2 separate regions of the Homo sapiens genome follow, and region 2 is linked to region 1. The links are contacts of gene promoters, found by promoter capture Hi-C in human tissues and cell types (Jung and others, 2019). All regions are on one chromosome and are shown on one strand. The core of a region is centred on a gene start or on the middle of the fragment in contact, and the rest is flanking DNA. Distances in the headings are between cores, read along the strand shown.

What was found. Contacts are between HindIII fragments. The study calls those that stand out against the background at their distance.
Region 2: a contact is called between a fragment that was not itself captured here and the fragment with the promoter of CLSTN1 in region 1, in 2 of the 25 tissues and cell types used here (dorsolateral prefrontal cortex and mesenchymal stem cells).

Annotation. Positions count from the first base shown.
Region 1 is chr1:9,821,535-9,827,092 of GRCh38, forward strand. CLSTN1 (calsyntenin 1) reads right to left here and starts at 2,431. Exons shown (of 19, transcript NM_001009566.3): 1 at 2,109-2,431. The coding sequence starts at 2,199. RefSeq lists silencers at 2,153-2,232, 2,243-2,392, 2,563-2,612, 2,633-2,692 and enhancers at 2,305-3,021, 4,082-4,141. The HindIII fragment of the contact is 7,682 bases long and covers 212-5,558 here.
Region 2 is chr1:10,178,880-10,184,437 of GRCh38, forward strand. UBE4B (ubiquitination factor E4B) reads left to right here. Exons shown (of 28, transcript NM_001105562.3): 27 at 537-683; 28 at 1,016-2,360. The coding sequence ends at 1,077. Among named protein-coding and RNA genes, the nearest start is that of KIF1B, 29 kb to the right of the region's middle. The HindIII fragment of the contact is 5,206 bases long and covers 277-5,482 here.

The sequences.
Region 1 (5,558 bases), core at 1,181-3,680:
TTTTCTGCAGCAGTCTGTACGTAATCTAACATTAACAATGATTAAAGGTAGCTACAGCATGAACAGGAGTTCATGTCGTACTGCCTTACAGCCGTAAAAAATTCAATTAGTTGAAATGATCTCTTAAAACGAGCCCACAGAGTGTCTCCAAACTGTAAATTTACATATGAAATTCACTTGTAATATTTCAAAATGAAATTGTTTATTAGCATTTCGTGTAATTCCAAGACATTTTCTAACTTGCAACCTGAAAAAAATGCATACGAATAACTGATGTGTAAAATGTCTTTATTCCGAAGACTAAGAATCTTGAACTACTGTAACTGCACCAAGAAAAACTTAGAGAAAGCAAATTACAAATGACTCAACTAGCCAACACACCTTTCACACAAGATTTCTGTCGGTCTCAGGTAATGAAGATATTCAAAGTTGAAATGTATGCTGTTTAAGTAACCAAGGCAATTAAATAATGACTAACAAATGTAGGTGCTATTTAAGAAAGCACCAATTTTAACAAGAAATGGTATCACTGACTAAATATACTTAAACTGTTCCCAAAATACCCAATCCAAGCACATATTTTTAAAATGTGTGGGTTTTCCCCAAGAGAAGCAAAACTTTTGACATTTCTCTTGGATATATTAGAGTTTCAGACCTCCAACCCACATCTGGAAAGAACATTTCAAACTTAGCTTGATGTTACTTTTAAAAATCAAATGGCCAGCAATGAGATACTTAGTGACTAAGATCTGAATTTGACAGAGTCAACAGAATGTTAGAAATGAAATAAAAGAAGTATTCAAAGTTTATCATCCTCGATGTTTAGAAAGGAACATGGAACAAAAGATGCATTTGCCGCCTCTGCCCTTTAATTCGTGAACACCATACTTCTCTCCTTATGTCACGCCAGGGAAGGGAAAATAAGAATTTTTAAAAAGCTTGCTAAATTCAAATATGACCATTTCATCTAGATTTCTATCAATCCTCCTCCCCAAAATTTCTTTTGATTAAAAAAAAATCAGAACAACAGATTTAAGCCTACAGTAGATTCTACAGACTACACCTAGATTACTCTGCTCTAAGGCCAAGGAAAATGTTTACGATTTCAAGATCCACTCAGAAGCAAATACTGTATCTGCAATGCGTAAGCTTTTCGTTGGCAAGACCAGTCAATAGCAGAGGCATGCAAGGTTTAAAAGGTTAAGTGGATGAAGGTTAAAAGCTAATAATAAATTAGCCAAGAAATACTACTTCCCACCGAGCCATAAAATAATTTCGGTCCTACAATCCTAAAAAACCAGAGAGGTTTCTCGTTTTTGTAGAGAACATCTAACCCTCCACGGTCTAAATGACCGTCAGAAAAACAGCACCAAGGCACCAGGGGTAGCAGAGACGGAGATTTCTAACACTGGGTGAGCCCGCGGTCGCAAATCTCATCGCGATTTCACCTTTGGGTGAAAAGGTGGGAGGGAAGCACTAAGTTTCAGCCTCGGCTCCACTGGAAACAGACAACGTCTGAAGGACTCTGGGAGGAGGCGGAAAGGGGCGAAGTCGTGGTGTCCGCGGTGCAGCAACACAGAATCGGGATCTTGGAAACGGGATGCGGAGGAGTGGGCTCTTATGTAAGCACACACCAAAACTGTGCGTGCACCCCCCGCCTGATGCACATCTGAGCACACGTACACAGAGCATCTCACCCAGGGGTGCAGCCCCAGCCTGCGTGCGCCGCTGAGCAGGGCGGACTGACCCTTCGGCCCGTCTGCACGTTCCCCCAAATCAGCGCAGCCACCACCATGGGCTGCAGTGGGGGCAGCCCAGGCTCAGGAGCCCCGCCCGGGACGGAGCCTGGCTTCCCCGGGACGCCTGCAGCGCGCGCCCACAGTCTCCTGCGCCCTGGCCCCGGCTCCGCGAGCCCGACCCCCAACCCGAACCCCACGCCCTGACCCGGCTCCCTGCGCTCGGACCCGACTCCCCGCATCCCGGCTCGAATCCCGGCATCCGGCCCTACTCCCGCACCCGGACCCGAATCCCCGCACCGGGACCCGAATCCTGCACCCGGACCCGAATCCCGCACCGACCCAGCGGCCCGGCCCAGCCCCGGGGCTTACCTCGCGCGGCCCAGACCCCGCCGCCGCACAGCAGCCCGGCCAGCAGCAGCCGGGCGGCCGGGGCCAGCGCGGGAGCGGGGCGGCGCAGCATCGCCAGCCCGGGGCGGGAGCGGCAGGGAGGCGCGCGGGACGCCGAGCGGAGCTCTCGGAGCTCTCGGGGCTCTAGGGGCCTGGGGCTAGCTGCTCCGCGGCGCGGGGAGCTCCGGGGGTCCAAGGAGGAGCCGCCGCCGCCGCCGCCGTGACGCTGGGCCGCGCGCTCAGGACGCGGCGCCCTCCCCGCCTCAGAGCAGCGTCTTGCTGAAGGCAGCGGCAGCAACTAAGATGGCGGCGGCGCTCTCTCTCGGGTCCGGCGAGGGTACCCGGCCGGGGGCGGGGTGGCGGCGGGAGGGGCGGGGATGGGGAGCGACGCGAGGCGCGCGCGCGGCGGACCCTGGGAGCGCGCGGGCCCGGGAGGGGCGGGGGAGAGGAGCGGAGGGAGCGCGCGCGGCGGACCCGGCAGCGGGCGCGCGCCTCCGAGCCCGTCGGCCCCGCCTGGAGCGCGCGCCCGCGGGGACGCGCCTGGGGTGGGTTCCGAGCGGCCGGGAGGGGCCCGGGGGACTGTATCCCTTTCCCTGGCCGCAGATGGAGAGCCTCAACTCCGCGTCCCTACGCGCGCTCCCGGGCTCCTAAGGCCGGGTGAGCGGTACCCGGGGACCCGCTCCTCCTTCTCCACCCCGAGGACTCATCCTTCCCACCCGCTCCGCCGAGGAGCGCAGACCCCGGCGGAGCAGTGCGGCCCAGGACCCTTGTCACTTCGGGCAGGTCGCGTCGCCCCCCAGAACCTCGGGGTCCTCGTCTCCCCAGTAGAGGTGTTGAGAGGGGTCACGAAAGGGGGTCCAGGAGACGAGGTCAGCGAAACGCGCCTGGTAAACAGTTAAGGGCCGCGCAGCACTACCCACACCGGCTCCCGCCCCGGGACCTGCCCCCGGGGAGTCTGTCCTGAATTCACTGAAGGAATCTATTTGTGACTTTCAAAAGGCGGCTGGTGTGCGCGCTCTTTCTCAGTGACATGGTGCGATGCTGGTTCTTAGAAATGCGGAGGTCCGAATGGATAGAGAGGACAGAGAAGCCCTCCCCCTCTACCGTGGATCCCTACAGGGATCTTGGGGTCCTCCCAATTTCCCAGCGTCCAGCGGCCCCCTCCTCCTCGCCTCTGGACCCCTGGCACCCCCCCGCAGTGGAGGAAAGGCCTGGAACAGCCGTGGATGGGCGTGTGTGCAGGCACTGTACCCTATGAGACACTACTGGCTCCATTTTGCAGATAAGGAAACTAAGTCAGAAAGGTGAAATGACTTCCCCCGTTGGGACAACTATTGTAAAAAGAATCAGCCCTCAAGGACAGGATGTTCGCATTAGGGGGACACCAACAGCAAAAAGTGGAACCCTAAAATGTTCATTTTTCGAGACCGCTGGAGGAGCTATCCATGAATGTCACTGCTCCAGGTGGGGGTGGAGGAGGCTGGCAGCACTGGAGGCTGGGTGGAGACTGGTTTGTGGGGCGCAGAGGACTTATTTAGGAGACTAGTGGGCAAAGAGCCCAAAAACGTAGACTGAGGTCAGATTGGGGGAATGGACTTGATCCTACAGTCAACAGGAAGACCTGGAACGGCTGGGAACAGCGGTGTGATGTGACCTGGGGAAGGCTTCAAAAGCAATCTGGAATCCAACTCCCTGAGCCGTGTTCCCCGTAAGCGTCCTGCACCAAAGCCTACAGATTCCATCTTGTTAATGTCTCTCCTTCCTTCCCCTGCTCCCCCTCCCCTGCGTGGAGGAAGACCGGACTCTCCTTGGCTGGACCCTTCCCAAAGCACCTGCCTGGCCCGGGCAGGCTCCAAGCCACACCCACCACTCCTTCCAGCCAAGGCTTTGAGTCATCCTCTCCCCTGGTGACGGGTGTTGCCATTGCTTCTGCCCCTCCTGGAGTTATAAACTCAGTGAGTGCCTCCCTGCTGCCACCTCGTCAGGTCCAGACATCTCTGCTGGGCTTCCCATCCTCCACCCAGCTGACCTCAGGGCATGCTGTCTGCCACTGTCTCTTCTTATTCATTCCCCTCCCAGGGCCAACATCACACTTCCTCCTCCACCCATACCCAAGCCTCAGGTCCTTACAAGGAGCTTCTGGGCTGTCTCCTTCAGGAAGTCCTCCTGCCAGCCCTCCCTCTCCAGCCCCGAGCTGCTCTAACCAAACAGTTCAGCTTTATAATCTGCTGCCTGTGCTGTCGACTGACTAATCCATCAGTGTCCTTTTCTCCTCCCCACTGTATTCTAGTGGGAAGGACCCAGATGGTCTAGTCAGACGGGACTGGACTTCAGTGCTGGCCTCTGCAAATGCAAACGACCTTGGCCAGGTTATGGAACTTTCAGAATCTCCTCACCTGCGAAATGGAACAATATGTACTTCTTAGAGTTGTGAGAATTAAATGAAATGATGCCACATAGATCTAGAAATACCAGGCTTTATGTGGCAAATAAATGAAAGTGCCACATAGAGCCTGGTGTTTCTAGATACATGAGTTTCTTTTTCCCTTCAAGAAGAAGGCTTCTGTGCTTCTAGTATACCAGCGATCAGAGTAGGTACTCAATAAATAGTGATGAACTCAATGAATTGCTGAGTTAGGTTTTATTATTATGGAGCTCACATCTCAGAGGGTGAAAAAAGATGTACCCTGTAGATTTCCAGGGACCTTCGAGATTTGCAAAACATAAAATCGGAAAGGTATAATCTCAGAACTATGTTTTCAGTCCATAGACTGATGATGCCAAAAGGGGAAATTTAATGTGTTCAGTTCTATTAAAAACACAAACAAAAGCTCTTCAGTGTCTGGAATCCTGATCCCTTTATCTTCTCACCCTTACTGTCCCTTAAAGAAACAGAGATAGGTCAAAAAGATCCAGCGTCAGGTGGGGCAGATAGACGGCTTGGTGAGCTCAGTGCAACCTGCACCTGCTGGGATTTCACCCACATGAGAGTGAGTCCAGCTTGAAAGTCTCGGAAACGGGGGAACCAGTAAACTCAGTTTCTGCTCTGCCTGACAATAGCCTCAGCCACATTGGCACATTTCAAAGGTTTCCCCCATGATGGATTAGTTAATCCTCCAAATGGCCCTGAGACAGGGATCGATTCAGGCTTATGCTATGGTTAGCTGGGAGAGGGGCCTTGCCTGAGCTGAGCCAGCCACTGACAAAGTGGCAGCATCAGAGGCCCTGGAGCCATGGGGAATGAGGCATCACCCAGGCCCATCCTGAACTGGGAACATAGACTTGAGGATAAGGAGGTGACTTTGTTAGCTAGTGGAGGAAGATCTGTACTTTTGAATGTATAGTGACTCTATCTGAGACAGTAGATGAAGCGCACACAAGAAAATTTTCCAAGATGCTGCACCTTCTGAGATGACTGTTGCTGATACCATA
Region 2 (5,558 bases), core at 1,630-4,129, 360 kb after region 1:
ACAAGAGGACGTCCTGTGCAATTAATTTTTTAATGGTGTGCTAGAGCTGCTTTTTGAGACAATCTGTCTTAAATTACATTTGCCTATTTTTAGCTCATATTGTAAATTGAGAGGAAGAAACATCCTTAGCTTAGCCTGACTTAAAGCCAGATAACAACCCTGAAGATTCTAAGGGCAGGGCTGCCTTTGCAAGTGGGGATTCACATTTTCAAAGAATTCCCAGAAGTCCTAAGACAAAGAATTCCAGCCTGCCGTCCTCGCCACGGAGCCTGTGGGGCCTGCTGCTGGGTCTGTCCCAGGCTTTCTTCTCTGTTCCCTCCCCCCAGCAGTAGCTGACAAAGAAGCGCCTTCCCCTTACAAAAGGCAATGTATATGCCTTTATTGAAGGCTGATTTCCTTCTAAACCTGGGGGCCTCACAGGGGCCCTTTGATTGCTGTTCCTTTGGATAGATTTTTCGCTGGTAGAACGGGCTTTGTTTTCTTTTTCAGTCGTGGGCTCTCAGTAGATTAGAGTTTGCTTTGCTTTGTCCCCGCAGACCCTCTGATGGACACCCTCATGACAGACCCCGTGCGGCTGCCCTCTGGCACCATCATGGACCGCTCCATCATCCTGCGGCACCTGCTCAACTCCCCCACGGACCCCTTCAACCGGCAGACGCTGACAGAGAGCATGCTGGAACCAGGTAGAGGAGGGTGCAGTTTGAGGTGCAGCGCTGGCGTCAGTACCAAGAGATAAAGCCCAAGTCACATATTGGAGATGAAGCAGAAGGGAAATTTATCAAATGCAGAAACTACCTACTTTATGACACTCTGTAGCAAAGACCCAAAACACTCTTGGCCCTTTTTCCCTGCAGACATCCAGTCCCTCCCTCTCATGTCCCAGTCCTTCTGGAGTCTTCGGCTCAATGAGGGAAAGAATGGCCTTTTCTTCCCATTTATACAGAGCGACAAGCATCCTCTCTCAGGAAGAGCCCTCCCATCTGGGGCATTAATCCTCCTTTTTTTCTTTTCTCAGTGCCAGAACTGAAAGAGCAGATTCAGGCGTGGATGAGAGAGAAACAGAACAGCGATCACTAAACCGTTCCGCCGCCCACCCTCTGCTAGACACAGCCAAGGCCAACGAGGCAAGCAGAAGCAGCGGCCGCAGCGAAGCTGCCGTTCATGTGTTGGAGGCCAAATGTGGCAAACCAACCCCAGGCCCACCCAGAGCGAGCAAACGCTGAGACCTGAAAGGACATGGATGAGAAGAGGAGCCCGCTTCCTGTACATATATTTAAGTGACAAACACGGTCAAAAGCTTAAGGGACAGGTTTTATGGTTGCTTGTGTAATAAAGCATGTCCTTCGTATGTCACAGTTTGGGGCAACGGAAGTCTTTTAGTGATGGCTAATGGGTCTGGGCAGCATCCCTTCATGAATTTTTTTTTAATCCAATATCCGTTGATTTGATTGTGATTAGAGAACCTTGGACATTTTGCTGCTAAAGAATCTTTTTTCCCCTCTCCCCCTTCCTGACCCTACTTGCACTGCTGTGGATTTTTTTAAGAGAAGCAAAAACAAAAGTAAACTCCTTTCCCTGGCCCTCCAAACATATATTCTGTGAGATAACTGTGCCTGCTACCAAGTGTTAATCCTGGGATCGTATTTTTATATCATATTCACATATTTGTTTTTTTAATTGGTGTTAGATGACATGATTAATAAAAAAGGCAAGATATTTTCAGAATTTGAATTTCAGTTTTTTTTTTCTTTTGAAATGTCCCTTTAAGATTTTTTTATTCTAAACAAAATAAAGAAAATCCTGCTGCTCTGGTCCTTGTGATAAGCCTCTCTTCGGCATCTGAGGAGCAGCTGCAGCAAAATCTAGGGGTGTAAGTGTATCAGGACTTATGTGACTTATATTTTGGGGAGATGAGGGTTGGGTTTTTTTTTTAATGCTACGTGACAGTTTGAAACCTTCACAGTTATCCTCTGGGGGTAAATCAATTCTTCAACCCTTGGGTGTGTGAGTTTGAGGCAGGGTCATTTGTGTGATGTGTTTGGCCTTACCAAAGCAAAAGAGGGTGCAAGAATGTGGGAGTATGTCTGCCGGTTTCAACACACACAGACAAACACAGCCACACGCGCACACAAGTATAAGACTTTTTGTATTACTGCTCCCTACTTAACATACTTGAATTCTCAAATTTCCTTTGGGGTAAAAAAAAAAAAAGGATTTGAAACCATAAAGTGTTCTGAAGAAATTAAGTCTATAAAAAGCATACTTTCTTTTTTCTTTTCCTTTTTTCCCTCCACAGACAATGTCCTCTGTTCAATTCCTAACGCAAACTACAATAAATGGTGACACACGTTCAGAAGAAATCTTCTTTGAGTCTCTTCTCTTTTGTGGAAAAAAAAAAAGGGCAGGGCGGGTGGGTAAACAAGAGCCAAGTGAGTTTGCATGTGGTGAATGATCTTTCCTGGATCCAATTAGGAGCTGCTATTTTTAAAAGAAAACTTTCTTATTCATGTCAGTCTCGACATTTGGTTCTCATTTCACTGTTTGCTGATTTGAGGGGGTAAGCTTTGTCATATTCAGTCTTCTGCCTTTCTTGAGTTTCTTCTGCTTTATCTCAAGTATCTTCCCTGACCTTCAAGATTCTTCCTCAGGCCGGGCCCGGTGGCTCACGCCTGTAATCCCAGCACTTTGGGAGGCTGAGGCGGATGGATCACCTGACGTCAGGAATTCGAGACCAGCCTGGCCAGCATGGTGAAACCCCATCTCTACTAAAAATACAAAAAATTAGCCGGGCGTAGTGGCAGCGCCTGTAGTCCCAGCTACTCGGGAGGCTGAGACAGGAGAATTGCTTGAACCTGGGAGGTGGAGGTTGCAGTGAGCCGAGATGACGTCATCACACTCCAGCCTGGGTGACAGCGAGACTCCGTCTCAAAAAAGAAAAAATATATATTTATATATATTTACATATATATTTATTTATATATATTTATATATATATATATAACATGGCCAGGTGCGGTGGCTCACGCCTGTAATCCCAGCACTTTGGGAGGCCAAGGCAGGTGTATCGTCTGAGGTCAGGAGTTCTAGACCAGCCTGGCCAACATGGTGAAACCCCATCTCAACTGAAAATACAAAAATTAGCTGGGCGTGGTGGTGGGTGCCTATAATCCCAGCTACTCGGGGGGCCGAGGCAGGAGAATTGCTTGAACCCAGGAGGTGGAGGTTGCAGTGAGCTGAGATCGCGCCATCGCACTCCAGCCTAGGGGACAAGAGTGAGACTTCGTCTCAAAAAATAGATAGATAGATAGACACAATAAATAAGGAAAAAGTTCATGATAGCAAAAATTTTAGGCAATATAAGCAAAAAGAAAAAAAATCCATATTCTCACCATGCAGAAGATTCTGTTTAATTGGGTTTACTTTTTACTAAACTTACATATCTAAGCTTAGTGCCTGTAGAATTAGGATACTGACTGGCATCTTGCCTAATTTTGTTTGTGTGGTTATCTGACCAGTGTGTACTGCTTGTCTCCTCTCCATCCCAGATTCCAAACTCTTATTTTAATCCTCCAGTTGTCCCCGTGAATGTAATAAAATGCTGCTTTATACCGCCATATGCACTTGTCGTTTTGAATAATTCAGAGGTTTCAAGGACCTGCCGGATAGGACAGAGACACAGTCAGTCTCCTGCCTGTACTATCTATAGGGGGAAGATGATTTGGGTTTCCATTTTTAGAGTCTCAAGAGTTGCTGTTTTGTGTTTGTCTGCAGTCTCTTAATTGTGGATATTGAAATAAATCCCAAAATATATTAAAAGTAGGTCTTGGCTAAAAGGAAGATTGTCAAATAAGAGAATCAGATTGGCAGAAGAGAAATGATCCTTGAGAGAAAGATGATTAAAATCTGCCTTGTGTTGTGACTCAGTGTTGTGTAGATTTTAAAAAGATATTGATTGAATATCTTTTGAAAAAAAAGCTGAGCACACCGTTCACTTTTTGTAACCTCTGGGTTTGGTACATCGAGTAGTGAATTTCACAGCAATTTGATTGGAGTGCTAAAGTGACATGAATAGGCCTCATTTGAGTAGGTACTTTTTTTTGTTTTTTGGTTTTTTTCAGACGGAGTCTCGCTCCGTCACCCAGGCTGGAGTGCAGTGGCGCAATTTTGGCTCATTGCAACCTCCACCTTCCAGGTTCAAGTGATTCTCCTGCCTTAGCCTCCCGAGTAGCTGGGACTAGAGCACATGCCACCATGTCCAGCTAATTTTTTTTTTTTTTTTTTTTTTTTTTTAGTAGAGATGGGGTTTCACCATGTTGGCCAGGCTGGTCTTGAACTCCAGACCTCAAGTGATCCACCTGCCTCAGCCTCCCGAAGTGCTGGGATTACAGGCATGAGCCACCACACCAGGCCTCAAGGTACGTTTTTGATTGAAGGAGACACAGTAGCCTATGAGCTTGATGCTGGTGTCAGATAGTGTTGGTGAAGAAAGTCATTCTGAATTGGTGATGATCATTTGCATTTCATGAGCATATTCTATGTGCAAGCCACTCTTACATGTATTAATTTTTTTTTTTTTTTTGAGACAGAGTCTCGCTCTGTCGCCCAGGCTGGAGTGCAGTGGCGCGATCTCGGCTCACTGCAAGCTCCGCCTCCCAAGTTCACGCCATTCTCCTGCCTCAGCCTCCCGAGTAGCTGGGACTACAGGTGTCCGCCACCATGCCCAGCTAATTTTTTGTATTTTTAGTAGAGACAGGGTTTCACCGTGTTAGCCAGGGTGGTCTCGATCTCCTGACCTCGTGATCCACCTGCCTTGGCCTCCCAAAGTGCTGGGATTACAGACAAGAGCCACCGCACCCGGCCACATATATTAATTAATTTAACCCTCCACAACCATAATGTAGTGGAACTGGCACATGAATCTAGGCCATCTGGCCTTTCCAGCCTCATCTCTTCCCGACTCCTGCTGTATGGCAGAGTTCCAGAATGCTAGAAGTTCAGAATAGCTCAGAATGCCCAAGGAGAAGCAGCATAGCATTTTGGAAGGGACTTTGGCCTTGAGATCAGCTCTAGACCTAACCCCCATTTTAAACAATTAGATAACTTCAATATCACAGCTTTCATTCGTTACTAGCCACTCACGTTGACCCCAGATGTATATCTCAAACCTCCACTTCTCTCCTGTACTGTACACACTGGCCATCTCAGATGACTAAAAGGTCCTCAGACTTAACATATCCCAACCTGAACTCTGTACATTTCACCCCACGCCCGCTCCTCTTAGTCTCCTCATCACAGTAAATGACAACTCCATCCTTCCAAGTCGCTCAGGCCACAAACCTTCGAGTCATCCTTGACTCCGCTGTTGTGCTCTCCTCCTATGTCCAATCTGTCCACAAATCTCTCTGCTCAGCTGGGTGCAGTGGCTCACGCCTGCAATCCTAGCACTTTGGGAGACCAAGGTGGGTGGATCACCTGAGGGCAGGAGTTCGAGACCAGCCTGGCCAACATGGTGAAACCCCGTCTCTACTAAAAATACAAAAATTAGCTGGGCATGGTGG